Regions from separate parts of the Homo sapiens genome. Here all the other regions are linked to region 1. The links are contacts of gene promoters, found by promoter capture Hi-C in human tissues and cell types (Jung and others, 2019). All regions are on one chromosome and are shown on one strand. Each heading gives the region's core, a stretch centred on a gene start or on the middle of the fragment in contact. The rest is flanking DNA. Distances are from core to core; before and after follow the strand shown. Region 1 holds the start of SLC39A6 (solute carrier family 39 member 6). Region 2 overlaps FHOD3 (formin homology 2 domain containing 3). Region 3 overlaps FHOD3 (formin homology 2 domain containing 3).

Region 1 (2,700 bases), core at 201-2,700:
GGCGTGACCACTACGCCCAGCCTCAAATAAGTGTATACTTTAAATACACATTGAATCTTTTTTCCGACTTGACAATGAATCAGACACATTATGTCCATACATAGAATTCTTAAAGTAAACTGAACTTCATGAAAAACTCACTGTAGCATCCTTGTGTTACTACAAACCAGTCAACATTTAATCACAGGCTGTTAATCATCCACAGTAGTGTTTGGAACCAAAGGCCTGTGCCCCAAAGAGGAGGAAGCAATTGAGTTGGAGCTTGAAAAGCAGAATTCAGTTAAGCAGAGCCAGAATTCAGTTAATTCAGATCCAGCAGGATGTCCAGCACCAACGGTGGAGGTGATGGTGGTCAAACTCACATCTCCAGCAAAAGACGCAGACGTCAAGTTTACAACTAAGCAAGAGCATGGGGCTATCCAGCTCTACCACGGTCAGCTGTTCTTTGGACAGGGCTCTCGCATTCATTACCTTATCTAAAATACCGGTAAAACCTATTTTGCAAGGCGAAGGAGGAAAACACATGAAGGAATGTATATTACAAGTACTCGTTAAACTCATGTGTTGCACAAGTGCGAGGTATCATACAGGGAACAGTGGGAAATGGAGGTACGGCGTAGAACGAGGCTCCTGAAAGAGGAATCTTTGGGGCTTGAAGTTTCGGGAATTCTTTTACTAGGTAAAAGATAAACATTTAGAAATCATTCCCAGGAGAGAGGCGAGGAGCGGGGTGGGAGGGGACTAGCACAGGGGACAGCTCCGAGCCTTTCTCCAGGGAGGATGCTGAGCGCGGTCGTGGACCCGTTGAAGGATCTCCTTTCCTGCAAGTTGGTGTGTGCTGGAGGAAAAAGGAAAGCAGAAGGGAAGGGCCTTAGAGAAAAAGGCGAGTACAGAAAACGGAAAAGAGGGCACAAAGCTCTCTTCTAAAAGCTTTTTATTTCTAAACACGTCAGTCCCTTCTTCGAATATGGGATGAAAAGTACGGATCTTTTCCTCAAAAAATCCTCCGTTGCACCCCGAAGCCCATCTGAGCACCTTAAGAAGTCCGGCTCTCTAGGGTGAGTGGGCGCCTGCGGCGGGCTCCCCCCAGCATCCTCTTTCTGTAGCCCCCCTGCCCGGTCCGCAGGATCCGGTTCTCCGCAGAACCACCCCTACCCCGCCACGCCTGTCTGGCCTGAGGAGCTCCCCTCCCAGCCGCCCTGCTCCCGGACCTGAAAGACTCACGTCTCCGCGGCCTCGTTGTCCCACGGCCCGGCCACGCGCGCAGGTTTGGTTCCACACGGGCGGTCCAGAGGGCTCGGAACGGGCCCACTGGTGTCTTCGAGAAATCTCTACCAGGCGCGAACACGCGGTGGTTTCATTGGGTTGGCTGCCCCTCGGTCCGGGGGCAGCGCCGCGCAGCCACCCGGCAGCCGCGCCCCTAGCCTTCGCGAAGCTGGAAGACAATCACTAATTACCGCCGCGCGCAGCGCCGCGGGGAACCACCGCCCCCTTCGCCCAGGACTGCAGGGCATGCGCAGTGCGACCCCGGAACCCGGCTCCGCAGACGGATCCGCTTTTCCGTGTGTTCGCCGACGCCGCGGGGGCGTGGCGCGGCCCTAGCGCATTGTAAGCAGTTGGGGGTCATTTCCTCGAGGCCCTACTCGCTAGCCAGCGCCCCCGGGGCCAGCCCTGGCTGCTGCTGGGAGCCGGGTCGTAAGGGGCAGCGAGATGTTTCTGACGCTGCCCCAGGCACATGAGCCCCGGGTCCTTCGGGAGGGTCCCGAGCCACTCGGGTCGGATTTCGCTCTTGAGACAAAGGCCTGGCTCGTTCGCGGAGCGGGGCCACGGTCCAAGAGCAGAGCTAGCAAAGCGGCGGCCTTGCACAGGGGTTCCAGCCTGCGGTGGGAACGGAGAGTCTCAGGGGGGCGGGGCTGCCTCCGTCTGGCCCTCGGCTGGCTGCGAAACGTGGACTGGGTGATGCCTCAGGAGAAACCACCCTAGTAGTTCCGCTCCGAGGGCGGAAGTGCGCGTCTCTTGTTTGTGCGGCTGACCAGTTGGCGACATGGTGGCACCCGTGCTGGAGACTTCTCACGTGTTTTGCTGCCCAAACCGGGTGCGGGGAGTCCTGAACTGGAGCTCTGGGCCCAGAGGACTTCTGGCCTTTGGCACGTCCTGCTCCGTGGTGCTCTATGACCCCCTGGTAAGAGAGGTCGCTGGACGGCCGACCCTTGTGCTTTTCGGGTTGAACCTGTGGACGTGCTCCGGGCGCGCTGTTAGTTGCCGCCCCAGACCTAGGAGGCGAGTCGGGTCGGCTCAGGGGAGCGGGGTTTGGGCTCGGAGTCTCCAGTGGACCTGCCGGACTCGCTCCTCACCCCTCACCCTTTGCCGTCTCACGCGTGGCGTCATCCTAGGGTCATTGCTGCCCATGAGCTGCTAGTAACCTGTTAGTCCCACGCAGAAACCCGAATGATAAGCATCTTACCTGAAGCCTTCCTTGGGAACTGTAGTACCGTTAATCAATTTGGGTTTTAAAACAATTGAAATTTATATGTAGATTAAAACCATCATCCCACAGGTGCAATCTCATTTCAGTATTTCCTTCAGTTTTGGTTAATGAACTTTTGTTGTATTGAATTTCAAGGAAATGTTACCTGTGTTTTAGCTACGGGAATGGACATTTTAGAGAAAGTGTCAGTTTGGGGGAAAGGTCATAGGGGA
Region 2 (2,701 bases), core at 126-2,625, 340 kb after region 1:
GTATACCAACCCATTGCAACTCTGATTTCCATGATTTCTCAACTTTTTAAAAGATTGACAACTATGTTAATGGGAATTTTATCACCACATATTAACTAATTTAGATTTAAAATTTTAGTAAAATCCAAATTAGTTAGGTGGTTGTCTTCCATTTCCATTATCTCTGTTCATTTAGAATTGAATAAATAGGAATTATTTTCTGAAAACCTTGTAGGCTGTGACAAGCATTTAACCCAAGTGCCACTAAAATATATATATGTAATATATATTTTTATTTAAAAAAATAATATATATTTTTATTTAAAAAAATAATATATATTTTTATTTAAAAAAATAATATATATTTTTATTTAAAAAAATAATATATATTTTTATTTAAAAAATATATTTTTTATTTAAAAAATATTTTTGTTTATTTAAAAATTTTTTTTGTTTATTTAAAAAATATATATATTTTTTGAGACAGAATCTTGCCATGTCGCCCCAGGCTGGAGTGCAGTGGTGTTATCTCGGCTTACTGCAACCTCTGTCTCCCTGCCTCAAGCAATCATCCCACCTCAGCCTCCTGAGCTGGGACTACAGGTGTGCACCACCATGCCCAGCTAATTTTTGTATTTTCTGTAGAGATAGGGTTTCACCATGTTGCCCAGGCTGTTCTCGAACTCCTGTGCTTAAGCAATCTGCCCGCCTTAGCCTCCCAGTGCTGGGATTACAGGCATGAGCCACCATACCTGGCCCAAGTGCCAATTTATTTGCAGAAAATATAAATGTTCTCAGTGCTTTCTTCGTGTTTTTAAGCTTAGGAGACACTAGAAGTTGGAGAAATTAAAATCTAATTATTTTTCTTTAAAACTTTTTTTTCTTATTTGGGTTGCTGTTAAATAATAAAATACTCAAACATAAGATTGATTCAGAAAATAGCTTCTTAAGCTCAAAAATATTGCTAGAATTGTTCTCAATAATAGAACAAGTAGTTTTTGCAATGAGATTAAATAGGAGAAAGCAACCATCTTTAATTCTATTTAGTCAGAAGAGCCTTATGCTTCCAATAGCTGACATTCAACTTGGACCGTATCTGTGGCCAGGTTGATAATTCTTTTGGGAAACATGCCACTGCACTTGAGTTTTCAGATGATTGTGTCAATATTGACGTGTCGAAGAAATGAACTGCATGCCTCTCTGATAAAAGGTATCTGGTGAAGGGATTAGCAAAGGACAAGTCAGTTAGAGCAATAAACATTCCTTTCATTAGTAACGTTTGAGCAGTTCCTAAGGACATTTTGCTGCCCTTAAAATTATTCCAGAAAATGCTTACTGCTATTTGAGATGTGCAGCGGGGCAGACCTCTGGATACTTCTAAGGCTTGGTATGCTTTGTACTGGGTGATGCTGCCATACAGCTTGGACTCCAGCACCCAGGAGGCTCAGGCCAGGGATGGATTGGCTCCTGTGGAGTGAGTCAAGCCCAGTCAAGGAAACTTGGGTCAAGAAGATAAAAATTCCATCAACTAACACTTAAGAGACATTGCACTTCTTTTCCTTTGGTGACTGCCAATGTGATAACTTACAGAAGGGGAAAGGATCTGTGTGCAAGTGGAGAAAGAGAGGGAGTGCCAGAGACACAGTCAGAGAGGGAGACCAGGCTGGGTCCTTAGGAGGGAAGGAGGCCCAGGAGGAGGCAAAGGGGGAGGGAGGTCCTGGGAGGAGGAGGAGAGGGTTGGTTTCAGAGGAAATAAGAACAAAGACTCATCTTTCAGCACTCTTCTTGCTCCCACCCTCTGTCTCTCCCCCCTCTTTCTTCCTTCTTTCTTGTGTACCATAGGCCCCAAAACACACAGGGATAGCTGCCCTTCAGTGTCCGACTATCTTTTTCTGTGACACACACACACACACGCAGGCAAACTGCCATGGGATGTTTACAACTTTTTAAATAATAGTAAAATAGAAATATAAAAATTGGTATGACAATCTTAGGCAAAAAGTTAGACATGGCTGGGCGCTGTGGCTCACGCCTGTAATCCCAGCACTTTGGGAGGCTGAGGAGGGCGGATCACTTCAGGACAAGAGTTCGAGACCAGCCTGGCCAACATGGTGAAACCCCATCTCTACTAAAAATACAAAAATTAGCTGGGCATGGTGGCGGGCACCTGTAATTCCAGCTACTCAGGAGGCTGAGACAGGAGAATTGCTTGAACTCGGGAGGCGGAAGTTGCAGTGAGCTGAGATCATGCAATTGCACTCCAGCCTGGGTGACAGAGCAAACAAACAAACAAAAAAAACAATTAGACACGGATCTCATACCCTAAGAGGAGCACAAGCAATGATGTTCGTGGCTGCCTCCAGAACCATGGGTCCGAAATGACCTGGGCCTGGACTGGCGAGGGCTGAGGCTGTGGCCTGGGCTGGCTTCTGCAAAGCGCAGGGGTGGGAGCCAGGGGTTGGTACAGGAGGGGCAGTGCTGCCCACCCGCCCTTGTGGAAGGCTTTTCTAGCCCATTGCTCCTCCCTGACACTGCTTCCAGGGGTGTGATGGTGGAAGGCTTGGCTGATGGCTTCCTAATGATTCTAGGTTCATCAGACATTTGTGAGAGATTGATCACCCACACATTGACTTAAACCAAGGATCCTAAGTAGGTTTTCTTTCAAGGACCAAGCCTATTGATTGATACTAGATTTCTGAAATGCTGTGTTTAGGGTGATCTG
Region 3 (2,700 bases), core at 85-2,584, 440 kb after region 1:
GGCTCAGCAACGAGTCCCCTCAGGTACGTGCTTCTAGACACAGAGTCTTCATGGTTGGTGAAATTTTAGTAAGGAAGTTGAGTAAATTGAGGGTTTTTAAAGTTAAAATTCTAAAAGTGTTGAAATCCTAAATAGAGAGAAGTACAGAATTAATATACTAGCATGTACTCTTAATTGTTTTACATAACATCCAAAAACCTATTTCTGATTTTTACAGAGGACTGATTTTTGAAGGGTTGTATATTAATAAGGCACATTTGTGGAATCATGTCTGAAACCTCAGACTGCAGATAGAAATACCTAGTGAAAGCTTGCTCCCTAGTGCCAGACACTTCATAATACACCCCCGCAGGGGCTTTCGAGTAATGTTACCTTGGAACTGGGAGTTTTGGAGGTCTTTGGGTTAAACCCTTGTGTCTCTCAGATGATACCATTGAAGTCCAGAGAGGTTAATTAGCATAACAGCATCAAGAACAGCCAACCATCAGCCACGTGCTGTGCTAATACATCAGCATATTTCATCCTAACCATACAGGATCCAGGTTGGACTTGTCTTCCATCTTATGACTGCGTAAGCTCCATAGTTTTTGGAAGTAAGAAATGGTGGAGATTACATGCAAACCAGCTTCTCCGTGGGTTTAAGTCCCGTGAGTTTTCTTGATGCGGTACTGTCTTAGAAGCAAAAATCAGGGGAACTATTCTGGTATCTTTTCTTTTCTCATGCCCTGGAAACTCATGTGTCTTCTCCCAGCTACATGTGCCCCATCCTTTAAGGTATGTTTCTTGTCAGCCTCTCCATGAATCCTCCTCTAATTACTCAGGCTCATATCAGCTGCACCCTTCTCTGAATCTGGGTGTTTATGAGCTCCATTCCACTCTGCTTGGGCTTAATTACTCGTCTCTACACCTTGTGTTCATTGTCTCTGTCACCTGGTAAGCAGGGATGTCAGTCAGGGACAGATGCCCTAAGTGTATGTGTCCTGCATGGGCCGTCACTAAGCTAGGAGGAGCTGCTTTTCCCGGGTTCATTGGCCAAGCCCTTGTCACTGACTCGGTGTCACCCCAGGTGACACCCCAGGTGAACACATGAGCGCGAATGAGACAGTCCAGCCACTGCTGACCCTGCTGCAGAGTCCATTTCTGGTTCATTCCACCTGTGGCTGTGACCTGTTTTGGAGAGGCTGTGTGCTTCCACTGGTATTTCATTGGATGTAAGTCTTAGAAGATCATTATAGAATAGATCATTAAAATGACTGTTTTACTTTCCATAGAGAACCTAGAAGTCTGCCAAAAATTTTTAGAGGTTCAAAACTTGCTAATCTGTTATACTTTCCTTCATTCCTTTGGTGTCTCCTTATCTAAAATATGGGGGACTGTAGAACGGGAAAGACTGGGAGAGGGTGAGGAGCATAGGTGTAACTGAGGCTGCTACAGCCCAGCAGTAATGAAGCACCTGTTTCTGTACAGGTGGCTGATGAGGGCTCCTTTTAAATCTTTAGCATGGGAATCTTGGATATAAACTTTGCTGCTGTTGGGAAGATGAATGAATAGGCCAGAAACAAACCAGTCTTCTGTGTGTATTAGATGGGAGAAGATGCAGAGAGCTTAGCTACATAATGTCCTGCTGGGAAGAAAGGTCTATCAGAAAGAAGCACATCAGTGTCAGTGTTTCTGTTTGGAAGGCCTGGGGAGGAGGGAGGGGAGACGGGCCCTCCCTCCTTTGAGAGTTACTAAGAGTTAAGCTTGTAAGTGTTAGGGGAGAATATTAGGTCTGATTTTTTTAACAACTTTTTTGGGGGACCTTTTTTAGAAAATGGTCATTCTAAGGTAGAGAGAGGGTAGTAATTTAAGACTGCTTTAGAAAAATTTGCATTGCAAATGCTGCTAAATGTCAGCAAGGGACTCAAAACTTTGACACCTTGTTGGAGCTCTTTGTGCTGATTAAATTCTTGTCTCCAGCCTAGAATTGGCAGCTTATTCTCCTTAATTTTCATGCTGTAATAGGTATTGAAAGAGTATTTCTTTGACAGTTGCCCTTGGGGAAAACTGGACCGGAGCTTGTTATTTAGGGCAGACAATTAAGTGGAAAAGAATAATAACTAGACTCCAAGGTCTTCATTTAGTTCCAAGAATGTCAACAATATCAACCTCTTTTTAATACTTACTGCGGGCTCTGGTGAATAATGGAAATTAGGGGTAGACAAATCCAGTTCAGAGTTAAGAAGAATGAATTTTAATGGTCTGATTAAAATTAATTGAAATCCCTTCTTTAAGATGAATTAGCCCTTCCCAGAAGATAAGGGGTGAGTGATACTAATAGTTTTGTTTTGTTTTTCTCTCTGGAGATTACTTTGATTTAAAAACTCACTGCACATTTTCAGAGCTCCTGTGTTCTAATTGAAGAAAGCAGTGCCTATCTTGGTGCTTAGTGATGGGCTCATGGAAGAACTGATTGTACCCTACAGTATCCCCATCTTCATTCCCAATGTGCAAATCACAGATCATTCCTCCCAAAACAAAATAAAACCTAGTTACCACTGATACTTGCTTATAGCAGAATGTTGCCCTGTGGTAAGTTTCTTTAATGTTTCATACCATTCATTTATTTTTTTTTCTGTACTTTTGGTAGAAATAAATAGGAATTATTTCCAGTCACATTCTCAAATGGCAAAATATCTTATTGAATGGCAACAGAAAAGT

What was found. Contacts are between HindIII fragments. The study calls those that stand out against the background at their distance.
Region 2: a fragment that was not itself captured here is called in contact with the fragment with the promoter of SLC39A6 in region 1 in 1 of the 25 tissues and cell types used here (H1 embryonic stem cells).
Region 3: a contact is called between a fragment that was not itself captured here and the fragment with the promoter of SLC39A6 in region 1, in 2 of the 25 tissues and cell types used here (dorsolateral prefrontal cortex and lymphoblastoid cells).

Annotation. Positions count from the first base shown.
Region 1 is chr18:36,127,890-36,130,589 of GRCh38, forward strand. It overlaps SLC39A6 (solute carrier family 39 member 6), which reads right to left and starts at 1,451. Exons shown (of 10, transcript NM_012319.4): 1 at 1,225-1,451. ELP2 (elongator acetyltransferase complex subunit 2) reads left to right here and starts at 2,010. Exons shown (of 22, transcript NM_018255.4): 1 at 2,010-2,182. The coding sequence starts at 2,045. RefSeq lists enhancers at 1,249-1,754, 1,377-1,671, 1,702-1,891, 1,755-2,260, 2,052-2,261. The HindIII fragment of the contact is 7,969 bases long and covers 1-2,700 here.
Region 2 is chr18:36,463,057-36,465,757 of GRCh38, forward strand. All of the region lies in intron 3 of FHOD3 (formin homology 2 domain containing 3), which reads left to right. Among named protein-coding and RNA genes, the nearest start is that of FHOD3, 170 kb to the left of the region's middle. RefSeq lists a silencer at 1,216-1,416. The HindIII fragment of the contact is 3,086 bases long and covers 1-2,701 here.
Region 3 is chr18:36,563,029-36,565,728 of GRCh38, forward strand. All of the region lies in intron 5 of FHOD3 (formin homology 2 domain containing 3), which reads left to right. Among named protein-coding and RNA genes, the nearest start is that of TPGS2, 260 kb to the right of the region's middle. The HindIII fragment of the contact is 5,121 bases long and covers 1-2,700 here.